Regions from separate parts of the Homo sapiens genome. Here all the other regions are linked to region 2. Evidence: promoter capture Hi-C in human tissues and cell types (Jung and others, 2019). All regions are on one chromosome and are shown on one strand. Each heading gives the region's core, a stretch centred on a gene start or on the middle of the fragment in contact. The rest is flanking DNA. Distances are from core to core; before and after follow the strand shown. Region 1 overlaps HEMGN (hemogen). Region 2 holds the start of NANS (N-acetylneuraminate synthase). Region 3 has its middle 34 kb from the start of FOXE1.

Region 1 (4,301 bases), core at 1,532-4,031, 130 kb after region 2:
TTTAAAGTTTGAATATACAGTCAGTCAGACTAGCCTCCAGAAATGTGGTAGCAATTCACACGAGACAGGTGCCTTTTCCCCACACCCTTGTCAGCACTGTACATTATGACATTTTAAAAATCCTTGTCTGTCTGCTAGGTTAAAAAATACACTTGATCGGCCGGGCGCGGTGGCTCACGCCTGTAATCCCAGCACGTTGGGAGGCCGAGGTGGGCGGATCACGAGGTCAGGAGATCGAGACCATTCTGGCTAACACGATGAAACCCCGTCTCTACTAAAATTACAAAAAATTAGCCGGGCGCGGTGGCGGGCGCCTGTAGTCCCAGCTACTCGGGAGGCTGAAGCAGGAGAATGGCGTGAACCCGGGAGGCGGAGCTTGCAGTGAGCAGAGATCGCGCCACTGCACTCCAGCCTGGGCGACAGAGCGAGACTCCGGCTCAAAAAAAAAAAAAAAAAAATACACTTGATCTTAGCCAAAAGGCTGAGAAGTGATAGGTTAAAAAATAAAACACACCTAATGGTCTTAATCACCCCCTTTTATAATTAATGTTACTAGACATCTTTTCAGGATTATTATAAATATAATTTTTTAAGAATTGCCTGTTTGAATCCTTATCCCATTCAACATTTTTTATTTCTTTTTTCCGATTAAAAAACCTCTTTAAATAATAGTTTTTACTATGTATATGTTGCAAATATTTTTCCAGTTGTCTTTGATTTGGTTTAACTTTGTTTATAGTGGTTTTCACCATATATAATTTTACTTTTTAGGTATTCGAACTTGCTAGTCTTTTCCTTTATGGTTTCTGGTCTCTGTGTTCTGCTTAGCATCCTAAGATTACTAAAAACACTATTATTTCTATAACTTTATGGTATTTAAAAATTTACCCCATCTACGGTTTGTTGTTGTGTATGTTGTAAAGCAGTTTTTCTTCCTCCAAATGGAGAGTCAATTGTCCCAATACAATTTATTGAATCTATTTTTTATTTTATTTGATTTTACAGAAATGAAAGAAAAACCCAAAGAAGAGCCAGGAATACCAGCAATTCTGAATGAGAGTCATCCAGAAAATGATGTCTATAGTTATGTTTTGTTTTAACAATGCTCAACCATAAAGTTGTGGTCCAATGGAACATACAGCTTAATAGTTTATGCGTGATTTTCTCAAAATATTGTAAAACTTTTGACAATGCTCATTAATATTATTTTTTCTATTTGTAGACCATATCTGAAAGAAATAACATTTTTTAAGGCTCTACCACATAGACAATATCATGCTAGAATGTGTGTGTGTGTGTGTGTGTGTGTGTGTGTATGTATGTATAGGTCGGGGAGAGGATAGTGGTGGGAACAGACAAATAAGGAAGCGGGGAGGACTGGATAATTGGTTTTCCCCCCTAAGAACATTTATTTACGTCTTAAGAGCAGATAAGTGACTAAGACTGAACACATACATTTTGTGGAGTATATAGTTTTCTTGTAAATGCTGTTCAATTATTAATGTAACAGTAGCATCAAAATTTTATTCAGGCTTTAGTTGACTCTTTTGGTCAGTTTTAACAATTCTCCTTAAAAGATATTTTGGAGTGATGAATGTAGTTTACTTTTGTATTTGAATTTTGATTTTCTATTTTTATTTTTTAAATATTGTATTTGTGCACAATGTACATTAAATCATTATTACATGCTTAACTGTGTGGATACCATCATGTTAAGAATTGCGGAGGTTAGAAGACCTATCTAACACCCCACGGTGGGGTTAATTTGGTTTCATGGGGAAATAAAACAGAAAACAAATAATCACAAAAGAAAATAGTAAGGGCTGGTGCCATTTGAATGGTAGATACAAACAGAGAATGCTCACTTTTTGCTGGAGTGACCTGAAAAAATTACACAGGCATGAAGCCTTGAAAGACGGAAAGTATTTGCATAGATGAGGATAGCAGCATTACTGTATGTGACAAAGAGAAGGGTGAGTTCAAAACATGTTCAAGAGAACTGCAGGCAAACTATGGTTAATGTAGAGTCCATATGAAATAGTAGTAGGCTTGCATGCTGAAAAGCTCATATTACTAGAGCATAGAATATTTTGCTTACCTAACCAAGAAATATATCACTTGTTAAAAATGGGGAATGAAGTCAGATTTTTGAACAATGGAATGGCAATTTCACTATTTTAGGAATATGGTAAATATGGTGATAATGGTAAAGATTAACTGAAAACGACAAGAGACCGGGGCAGGAATAGAAGCTGTTCTGGATGGGAAGATGTCTGAAAATCTACCCTGGTATTTTTTGTTTTCACTTTTCCTTCTGTTATTACAGAGGACTAAGGATATTTTTGCAAATAAAGTTTCATTCAGCAAGAACACACTTGCACAAGCTTTCCATATAGACACTGTGCTAGGTACTAGCTATATCAAAGAACAAGACAGGGTCACAGTCCCTCAGGCATTCATGGTATAATGAACATGAGAGAGCAGTGGTTCTTTCAACCCTTCTGGTACATTAGACTCACCTGGGAAGGTTTCAAAAATACATATATGTCCAGACTTCTCCCCCAGGGATTCAGATTCCCCCATCTAGCTGATGTACAGGCATAGGTATATTTATTTTTTAATTGTTTTATGCTTCAAATAATAGTTTTTGGAGGAATAATTTTAGAATTACAGAAAAGTTGTCATGATAGTACAAAAGTTACTATATACCTTTCGCCCAGTTTACACCAATGTTAACGTCTTACATAACCATGGGCCATTTGTCAAAACTAAGAAATCAGGATAGTTACACTACCATTAACTACAGACATTATTCCGTTTTCATGAATTTTTCCACTAATGTGCTTTGTCTGCTTCAGGGTCCAATCCAGGATATAGAATTGCATTTAGGATGTTTTTATTTTAAAAGCTCTCCTGACAATCCTAAAGTGGAGGTAGGGTTGAGAACCAATAGTACAGTGGGATGTTACAATATTGTTTCCCTCCTATCTGCCTACCCCCTTTTGTGTGTACATTAAATTTTTTACCATCAGGATGTATTCATTGCACAATTATTCATACCCCTATTATATTTATTACACAACATACTGAGGGCAGGGCAGCACAACCACATAATAGTTTCGTCTCTTTTTTTTTTTTTTTTTTTTGAGACGGAGTCTCACTCTGTCGCCCAGGCTGGAGTGCAGTGGCACCATCTCGGCTCACTGCAAGCTCCGCCTCCTGGGTTCACGACATTCTCCTGCCTCAGCCTCCCGACTAGCTGGGACTACAGGCGCCCGCCACCACGCTTGGCTATTTTTTTTTTTTTTTTGTATTTTTAGTAGACGGGGTTTCACCATGTTAGCCAGGATGGTCTCAATCTCCTGACCTCGTGATCCTCCTCGGCCTCCCAAAGTGCTGGGATTACAGGAGTGAGCCACCGCGCCCGGCCACAACCATATAATAGTTTCTTACCTCTCAATGACACTTCAACATTTATACTTTCACATAAACTATTTTATTTGATCTGTACAAAAGTATGTGAAATAGGCCAGGCGGTGATTATCACTCTCACTTAAAGATGAGGGAATAACATAGAGGGAAGGTACTCACCCAAAGTCACATCTGACTTCCTCAGTGCTTTTTTTTCTTCTTTGGAATGTGCTTCTGTCTCAATTTCACCTGCCAGAGTGGGCCAAAATTAGAGGAAAAAAAAGAGTAAACTGAAGTCTCAAGTTCTAACAGCGTTGCATTAAGATGGACCTTAAGAGATTTGCATACGTACAGTGCACAGGAGCACAAAGATGAGATGGGGAAGGAGAGGGAAAGAGGAATGCAGTACATTAGAGGAAGCAGAATTTCTCTCTCCACCTCTCGGGACCCTTTCTGCTTGCCCTCTTACATCACTCCCTGCATTCACACACCACTTCTGCTTTCTCACCATTCTTGTTTAAACATCACTGTGCATCTAAAATTCTTCTGGCGTTCTTCTTGGCTTAGAACCTTTAGGTGACAGAATTAAAGTTTTGCAAGAATCCTTCTAGCTTGACTTTGTGCTGCCCTCCTCTCATGTTAGGTTAGAAACCCATGAACCATATGATATTATAGCCAAAATGATGTGTGGGACGGTTCAAAGCTTTAGTTGATTCTCAAAGGGGTCCTTCACCCAAATGAGAGGTTAAGAATCACTCTACTGAGAAGTGTTTCTCAAAGTAGTACAAGCTGAAGACTACATAATTATTTAGGTCATTTCTTTAAGGCAGATTTCTAGGTCTTACATCTGGAGGAGAGGTTAAGTCTTATAAACTGCAAATAATCACATA
Region 2 (4,131 bases), core at 865-3,364:
CTAAAGTTGCACAGTGTCTCTAGCAGAGCTGGCCAGATCCCTTTCCTAAAGGCTGCAGCCACCTAGATTCCAGCTCAATGGAATTAGAGACAGGGTCTCGCTATGTGGCCCAGGCTGGTCTCGAATTCCTGAGCTCAAGCAATCTGCCTTCCTCAGCCTCCCAAAGTGATGGGATTACAGGAATCAGCCACTGCACCTGGTCAGTACAGCTTTGTTTCTATGGCTTCAGTATCTCTAGATATTTCTACAACTTCGGCATTCCAAGAGGAAAAACAGACTGCTCCTTCAAATTAAGAGTGGGAATTTCCCTCTAGAAAACAATGTTGCAGAAGAAAGGCTGGAGTCCTGTGGCTTAGGAGCAAAAACTGAAAAAACCCCTTACTGTATTTATTATACTAGCTATGTGACCTTGCCTAAGTCACTTATTTTCTCTTAGCCTTTAAAATGAAATCGGCAGCATCATGGCATTGGGTTGTTGTAAAAATTAAATGAGATGGTGCATGTACAGCATTTAGCTTAGTACCTGGTAGAGTAAGCACTCAAAAAATGTTAGCAATGTTATTTTTGTAAAGTATTTTTATGATTCAGTGATTAGGTTTCCATAAAACCAGTCCCGAAGGAACAGCAAGGGCCGAGGGTGGTGGCTCACACCTGTAATCCCAGCACTTTCGGAGGCCAAGGTGGGCAGATTGCTTGAGCTCAGGAGTTCGAGACCAGCCTGGGTAACATGGCCAAACCCCATCTCTACAAAAAAATTAGCCCAGCATGGTGGTTCACGCCTGTGGGTCCCAGCTACTCGGGAGGCTGAGGTGGGAGAATCACTTAAGCCTGGGAGGCAGAGGTTGCAGTGAGCCGGGATCATGCCACTGCACTCCAGCCTGGGTGATACAGAGACCCTGTCTCAAAAAAAAAAAAAAAAAAAACCAGGAAAAAAAAAAAAAAACAGTAAGAGAAAACCTCCAGCCTGGGTGACAGAGCAAGACCCTGTCTCTAACATAGATAAATAAATAAATAAACATTTAAAAAACCTATCACAAATGATACAAAATCAGTTGAGTAGCATTGATGAAGGGAAAGGAAAGATGGGGTGAGCTATCTCTAAACCAAAGAATCATAGTGCAGGCCAGGCCTTATGCTGGGGGCTGGGGTCGTAATGAAGAATATGGCAGTCCCAACAGAAGAGGGAGCACGCATTTACCGACTCATGTGTGCCAAGTGCTGGGCTCAGAGCTCTATCTGAGAATCTCATTTGATCCCCATAACAACTCCATGTGGAAAGAACTGTTGTTTTCAAGCCCCGTTTTCAAATGGGGAAAAGGGTTCACGGAGGCTAAGTAAGCAGCCCATGTTCACACAGCTAGTAGTGGTGGAACTGAGATTTGAACTCAAAGGCCCGGCTTTTAACCACTTCATATTTCATATACAGGGAATGGCGGGTGAGAGAGACCACAGCAACTTCCAGGAACTGTCATTCCTGAAAGTAACTCTGTGTCGCTGAAGAATGTCAGAGAAGAATTATGACGGGCTGGAAGGGGCCCAGTCATTAAAATCTTGAAGGCTATGTTAAAGGGTTTCGACTCTACCCGCGGGCAGGAGGGAGCCACAGAAGGTGCCAGGCAGGGGGGATGGTCTGATCAAGTCTGACTTTTAGAAAGATTATTCTGGCACCAGAACGGGGAGGAAACAGGTCGGGTTAGGAGGCAGCTGCTGTAATGCAGAAAGGTCACGAGGGTGGCGGACACGGTGAGGAAGAGGGATCCGAAGGATTCCGAAAACGGAACTGGCGGGCGGGAAGAGGCCGGACCAGGGTACCCAGCCGCGGAGGCCGTGTGGCCCTGGCTCCCCGCGGCCCCGCCCCGCCCCTCCCGGCGCCCGAATCCCGGGTCCCGGGAGCTGCCGCCTCACCTTGGCCATGCGGATCATGCGCTTGGCTACGTCCAGGTCGCCCTGGTGGTTCTGGCCGATCTCGGCAATGATGAAGCACGGGTGTTGCCCGCCCACCCAGCGCCCGGGACACAGCTCCAGCTCCAGCGGCATTGCAGCGGCTCGGGGTCCAAAGCCTCACTACCAGTCTGGGTCCGGCCGCCGCCGCCGCCGCCTCTACTCTGTTCTGTGAGCAACGCTGCGAGACCCACACGCCAGCCCCGCCACGTCAGCCCGCGGTCGCCGGGCAGCCAATCCCCTAGGCCCCGCCTCTCTCCCGACAGCCAATCGGGGCGGGGGGCGGGGGCGGGGCCTCCCGCGGGAAGGGCGGCGGGGCGGGTCGAGGAAGCTCCGCGGCCCTCTCCTGTGCGAGGCTTGAGGCTTGCTGTCCCAGAGCGTGGTCTCGGACCATCGCGGTATCCGTGCGTGCACCCAGGAGCAAGCATTCCCTGCAGGAGGCGGACGGCTGCCTGCGCAGGGCATAGTCTATGTCCTGCTCTCAGGAGCATGGGGAGAGCGCGCCCTATGGTGTAATGGAAAAAACAGGGTTGCTAGAGTTAGAATCACAGAGCTGGATCGAGTCCAGCCTATGCCAGTCACCAGCTCCTGCTCATATATACGTTACTCAGTCTTCCGGAGCGTTATTTTTGTTTCTCTCTGAAGCAAAAAAATAAAATAGAACTGTGAGATGACGTATAGAAACCCCTGATCACAATACTTGGCTTGTAGTAAGTTTTCAAGAAGTGGCGGAGGTTCCTATTATATGAGAGGCAACAGGTTCGAGAAGTTGCACTGGCTTGTCCAAAGCCATCCAGAAAGCCAAAGCAGAGATGGGACTAGTACCCGGACCTCCCAGCCCCAGGCTCTTAAAATACAATCACCTGGGCGGGCGCGGTGGCTCACACCTGTAATCCCAGCACTTTGGGAGGCCAAGGCAGGCAGATCACCTGAGGTCAGGAGTTCGAGACCAGCCTGACCAATATGGAGAAACCCCGTCTCTACTAAAAATACAAAAAAATTAGCCGGGCGTGGTGGTGCGTGCCTGTAATCCCAGCTACTCGAGAGGCTGAGGCAGGAGAATCGCTTGAACCCGGGAGGTGGAGGTTGCAGTGAGCCCAGATCACACCACTGCACTCCAGCCTGGTGACACTGCAAGACTCTGTCTCAAAAATAAATAAATTAATTAATTAATTTAAAAAATAAGATAAGTTATTTCCCAAAATAAACCTCCTTCTTTCCTGGGAACTAGACTGCCTTTGTAGGACTAACAAATTAGCCACAAGATTAGACACGTAGGAGTCATGCACCTGGAGGCTACAAGATTCTGACCCTCCCCAAATTGCTCCTGGGGATAACATCACTATTGTAAAACCTAAGACCAGTGCTTGAGATATTTTGCAGACCCTGCACTTGATGGATCAGCTGGCACCACCAGATTGATAAACTGGTTCATCTGATCTTGTGTCCCCCAACCAGGAACTGACTTGGCACAAGAAGACAGCCTTGACTTTCTATGATTTTATCTCCAACACAACCAATCAGCACTCCTGGCATACTGGCCTCTCTTAACCCACCACATTATCCTTAAAAACTCTGATCTCCAAGGTGGGGCATAGTGGCTCACACCTGTAATCCTAGCACTTTGGGAGGCTGAGGCGGGTGGATCACCTGAGGTCAGGAGTTCGAGACCAGCCTTGCCAACATGGTGAAACCCTGTCTCTACTAAAAATACAAAATGAGCCAGGTATGGTGGTGCATGCCTGTAATCCCAACTACTTGGGAGGCTGAGGTAGGAGAATCGCTTAAACCTGGGAGGCGGAGGTTGCAGTGAGCTGAGATTGTGCCATTGCACTCCAGCCTGGGCAACAAGAGCGAAACTCCATTTCAAAAACAAACAAACAAAAACCCCAAAAACCTCTGATCCCTGAATGCTAGGGGAAATTGATGTGAGTAATAATAAAACTCAGCCAGACTGCACAGCTGGCTCTGCATGAATTACTCTCTCTATTGCAATTCCCCTATTTTGATAAATCAGCTGTGTAGGTAGTGGGCATGGTGAACCAGTTGAGCAGTTAAAAATTTGGGGGCTCATTCGGGATTGCTCTTGTGCTACCTGCCCCGGTTCTGTAGACCCCCTCTGGCGATGGATCCAGAGGCCAGCCCAAGCGGCCACCTAGTTTTGGACTGGGGGCTGACTCTGGCGTCATC
Region 3 (3,922 bases), core at 748-3,247, 170 kb after region 2:
AGAAGACCCTTAACCCTCCAGCTCCTTCTAAATCTCCCCACCCTTCTCTGGGCCTTCCTGTTCTCCAACTCCATCTTATCATCATGTCAGATATATCCCTTGTGCTACTTCCTATTTCTCCCACCTAGAACCTAGACATTAATTGGGTCCATTACCCCTTGAGATCTCAGCTTGACACCCCCTCAATTCCACAGCTTTTGAAAGTCTTGCTCATTTCCAGGAATTTACCCTGGAGACTTCCATTCCAGCTTCCCTTCATGATGTGTTTTTGCCTTGCATGCAGGCCAGGTGCAGTGGCTCACCCCTGTAATCCCAGCAGTTTGGGAGGCCGAGGTGAGCAGATCACTTGAGGTCAGGAGTTAGAGACTAGCCTGGCCAACATGGTGAAACCCTGTCTCTACTAAAAATACAAAAATTAGCCAGGCCTGGTGGCATATGCCTGTAACCCCAGCTACTCAGGAGGCTGGGGCATGAGAATCACTTGAACCCAAGAGGTGAAGGTTGCAGTGAGCTGAGATCACACCACTGCACTCCAGCCTGAGTGACAGAGCAAGACTCCATTTCAGAAACAAACAATTCATCCCTGCATCCTTCAATACTCCCTGGAGAATCCCCTTTCACAAAAAAAGAATGACTTTTCTAAAGACAGTGTAAGAGTGACAAGAGGGAAGGAGGCCCATAGCACACACCATGACAAACAACTTAAAAATTCCCTCTTATTAATTCCTTTTCTCCCAAAGTCTTTTGTGCTGCTGTGCCCCTAAGGGCTCTCACCTTCTGTCCTTCATTCAGGTGGTGCCCCACCCTGCTTGCTGCTCACTCCCCTCTCCCAGGTCCCTCCCCTCCCCTCAGCATTATGATTCTTCTCCTTTTTGTACAGAACAGTTCGCCTCTCCCAAAACTCTGCCCTAACCTGCACACCACCCTGATTTGGGAGTTCTCACAGCAGTTATGACTATAATGCACAATATTCTATACAAACCTAATTATTCCTTTCGTCATTCCTTTCATAGGTAGTATAGGAGCAAACCATTGTGTTACCTGGTGGTTACTTTAGAACACCCAAATGTTGTTTAGATATGAAAACATCTTAACAATTTTGTTGTTTTGAATATGAAACCTGGATTTGGGAAAGGCAAAAATCAAGAAAAGATGATTAGAGGATGGCCCGACGTAGTGACTCACGCCTGTAATCGCAGCACTTTGGGAGTCCGAGGCAGTCAGACCACTTGAGGTCAGGAGCTCAAGACCAGCCTAGCCAACGTGGAGAAACCCCACCTCTAGTAAAAACACTAAAAATTAGCCGGGTGTGGTGGTGCATGCCTGTAATCCCAGCTATTTTGGGGGGCTGAGGCAGGAGGATTGCTTGAACCCGGGAAGTGCAGGTTGTGGGGAGCCGAGATCGTGCCACTGCACTCCAGCCTGGGCAACAGAGCAAGTCCCTCTCTCTCTCTCTATGTATATATATATGCGTGTGTGTGTGTGTGTGTAGTTAGAGGAGACAAGATACCAGCATACTTTGGAAATATTATAGGTTCGATTCCAAACCACTGTAATAAAGCAAATATTTCAATAAAGCAAATCAAATAAATTTTTTGGTTTCCCAGTGCACATAAAAGTTGATGTGCAATAGCATTATGTCTAAAAAAAACTATAATTTAAAATGCTTTATTAAAAATGTTCAAAAGAATAAATCTGACCTACTATTTGATAGCAAAATAGGGTGACTATATAGTTAATAATAGCTGTACATTTTAAAATAACTTAGAGTGTAATTGGTTTGTTTGCAATTCAATGGGTAAATGCTTGAGGGGATGGATACCCCTTCTTCACAATGTGCTTATTTCATGTTGCATGCCCGTATCAAAATATCTCATGTAGCCCATAAATATGTACACCTACTATGTATCCACAAAAGTAAAAAATACTTCATTGCTAAAAAATGCTGGCACAGATACATGAAGTGAGCATATGCTGTTGAAAAATGGGCACTGATAGACTTGCTTGATGCAGGGTTGCCACAAACCTCCAATTTGTAAAAAATGAAATACCTGGCCGGGCGCGGTGGCTCACGCCTGTAATCCCAGCACTTTGGGAGGCCGAGGCGGGTGGATCATGAGGTCAGGAGATCGAGACCATCCTGGCTAACAAGGTGAAACCCCGTCTCTACTAAAAATACAAAAAATTAGCCGGGCGCGGTGGCGGGCGCCTGTAGTCCCAGCTACTCAGGAGGCTGAGGCAGGAGAATGGCGTGAACCCAGGAAGCGGAGCTTGCAGTGAGCCGAGATTGCGCCACTGCAGTCCGCAGTCCGGCCTGGGCGACAGAGTGAGACTCCGTCTCAAAAAAAAAAAAAAAAAATGAAATACCTGCAAAGCACAATAGAGTGAAGTTCAATAAAGCAAGGTTTACCTGTGTAAACCATAAGTATTTAAAGACAAGGCAGGTGACATTGTAACACATGGCAATAAGGAACAAATTTTTTTTTTTTTTTGAGGCAGGGTCTAGCCCTGTCACCCAGGCTGGAGTGTAGCGACACAATCTCAGCTCACTGCAACTTTCGCTTCCTGGGCTCAAGTGATTCTCCCACCTTAGCCTCCTGAGTAGCTGGGACTGCAGGCATGCACCACCATGCCTGGCTAATTTTTGTATTTTTTTTTTTTTTTGGTAGAGACAAGGGCTCCTTATATTGCCCAGCTGGTCTTGAACTTCTGGGCTCAAGCAATCCTCCCCACCCACGTGCTGAGCCACTGTGCCCAGCCTAGGAGCAATGATTATTAGGAACTTAACTAAGTATGGTAGAAAGCACCAAGAGTTAAAAAAATATTTTGGTGACACAAAAGAAACTTTACTAATGTGGGCATAAAATATTCGAGTAATTTTACATAAGCATTACATAATGATGTATAATAAAGGATTTACTGATATCCTTTTATACCTAGATATATGCTGTTATATAAAAATACAAATGACTACTAAATCTAAAGCTTATGTCTATCGCTTTGAAACACAAAGTATCAGTATATTAAATAAAACAAGATATGTGTATATTTACTAGCTGAATAAACTGAAACAACTTTTAAAAATAAACATTAATCATATCCATTATATTGCATACATGTTTGTATTTATCTATAATTATTATTCTTAGAATAGTCAACCAATTACAGTAATTATCATCTTTAACCCAAGTACAGTCATAACCTAAGTATGTTTATGTCAGTAATGGGCTGCAATATATGGTGGTGGTCCCATGAGATTATAATGGAGCTGAAAAATTCCTATCGCCTAGCAAGATCCAGCCGTCGTATCATCATAGCACAATGCACTACTCATGTGTTTGGGGTGATGCTGGTATAAACAAACCTAATGCACTGCCAGTCTTATAAAAGTATAGCATATACACGATGTATAGTACATAATACTTGATAATAAATGACTATGGGCTGGGTACAATGGCTCATGTCTGTAATCCCAGCACTTCAAAAGGCTGAGATGGGGTATGGCTTGAGTTTGAAACCAGCCTGGGCAACATGGTGAAAACTCATCTGTACATTTCTATAAGAAATACAAAAATTAGCCAGTCATGGTGATGTGTGCCTGTAGTCCCAGGTACTCGGGAGGCTGAGGTGGGAGGATGGCTTGAGCCTGGGAGGTGGAGGTTGCAGTGAGCCGAGATCCCACCACTGCACTCCAGCCTGGGCAACAGAGCCAGACTCTGTTTCAACTTAAAAAATAACAACAACAATAACAAACAACTATGTTACTGATTTATGTATTTATTATACCATACTTTTAATCATTATTTTAGAGCATACTCTTTCTACTTATGTAAAAAGAAGTAAAATAGCCTCAGGTAGATCCTCCAGGAGGCGTTCTAGAAGAAGGCATTGTTATCATAGGAGAGGACAGCTCCGTGTGTGT

What was found. The method cuts DNA at HindIII sites, captures the fragments that hold promoters and counts their contacts. A contact is called where the count stands out against the background at its distance.
Region 1: a contact is called between a fragment that was not itself captured here and the fragment with the promoter of NANS in region 2, in 7 of the 25 tissues and cell types used here (adrenal gland, bladder, dorsolateral prefrontal cortex and 4 more).
Region 3: a fragment that was not itself captured here is called in contact with the fragment with the promoter of NANS in region 2 in 1 of the 25 tissues and cell types used here (hippocampus).

Annotation. Positions count from the first base shown.
Region 1 is chr9:97,924,183-97,928,483 of GRCh38, reverse strand. HEMGN (hemogen) reads left to right here. Exons shown (of 4, transcript NM_197978.3): 4 at 1,006-1,693. The coding sequence ends at 1,100. Among named protein-coding and RNA genes, the nearest start is that of TRMO, 3.8 kb to the right of the region's middle. The HindIII fragment of the contact is 4,400 bases long and covers 582-4,301 here.
Region 2 is chr9:98,054,715-98,058,845 of GRCh38, reverse strand. It overlaps NANS (N-acetylneuraminate synthase), which reads right to left and starts at 2,114. Exons shown (of 6, transcript NM_018946.4): 1 at 1,906-2,114. The coding sequence starts at 2,037. It also overlaps a transcript of TRIM14 not described here. RefSeq lists enhancers at 1,396-1,515, 2,556-2,605 and silencers at 1,766-1,935, 2,016-2,365. The HindIII fragment of the contact is 24,529 bases long and covers 1-4,131 here.
Region 3 is chr9:97,884,836-97,888,757 of GRCh38, reverse strand. No RefSeq gene overlaps it. Among named protein-coding and RNA genes, the nearest start is that of FOXE1, 34 kb to the right of the region's middle. The HindIII fragment of the contact is 3,353 bases long and covers 321-3,673 here.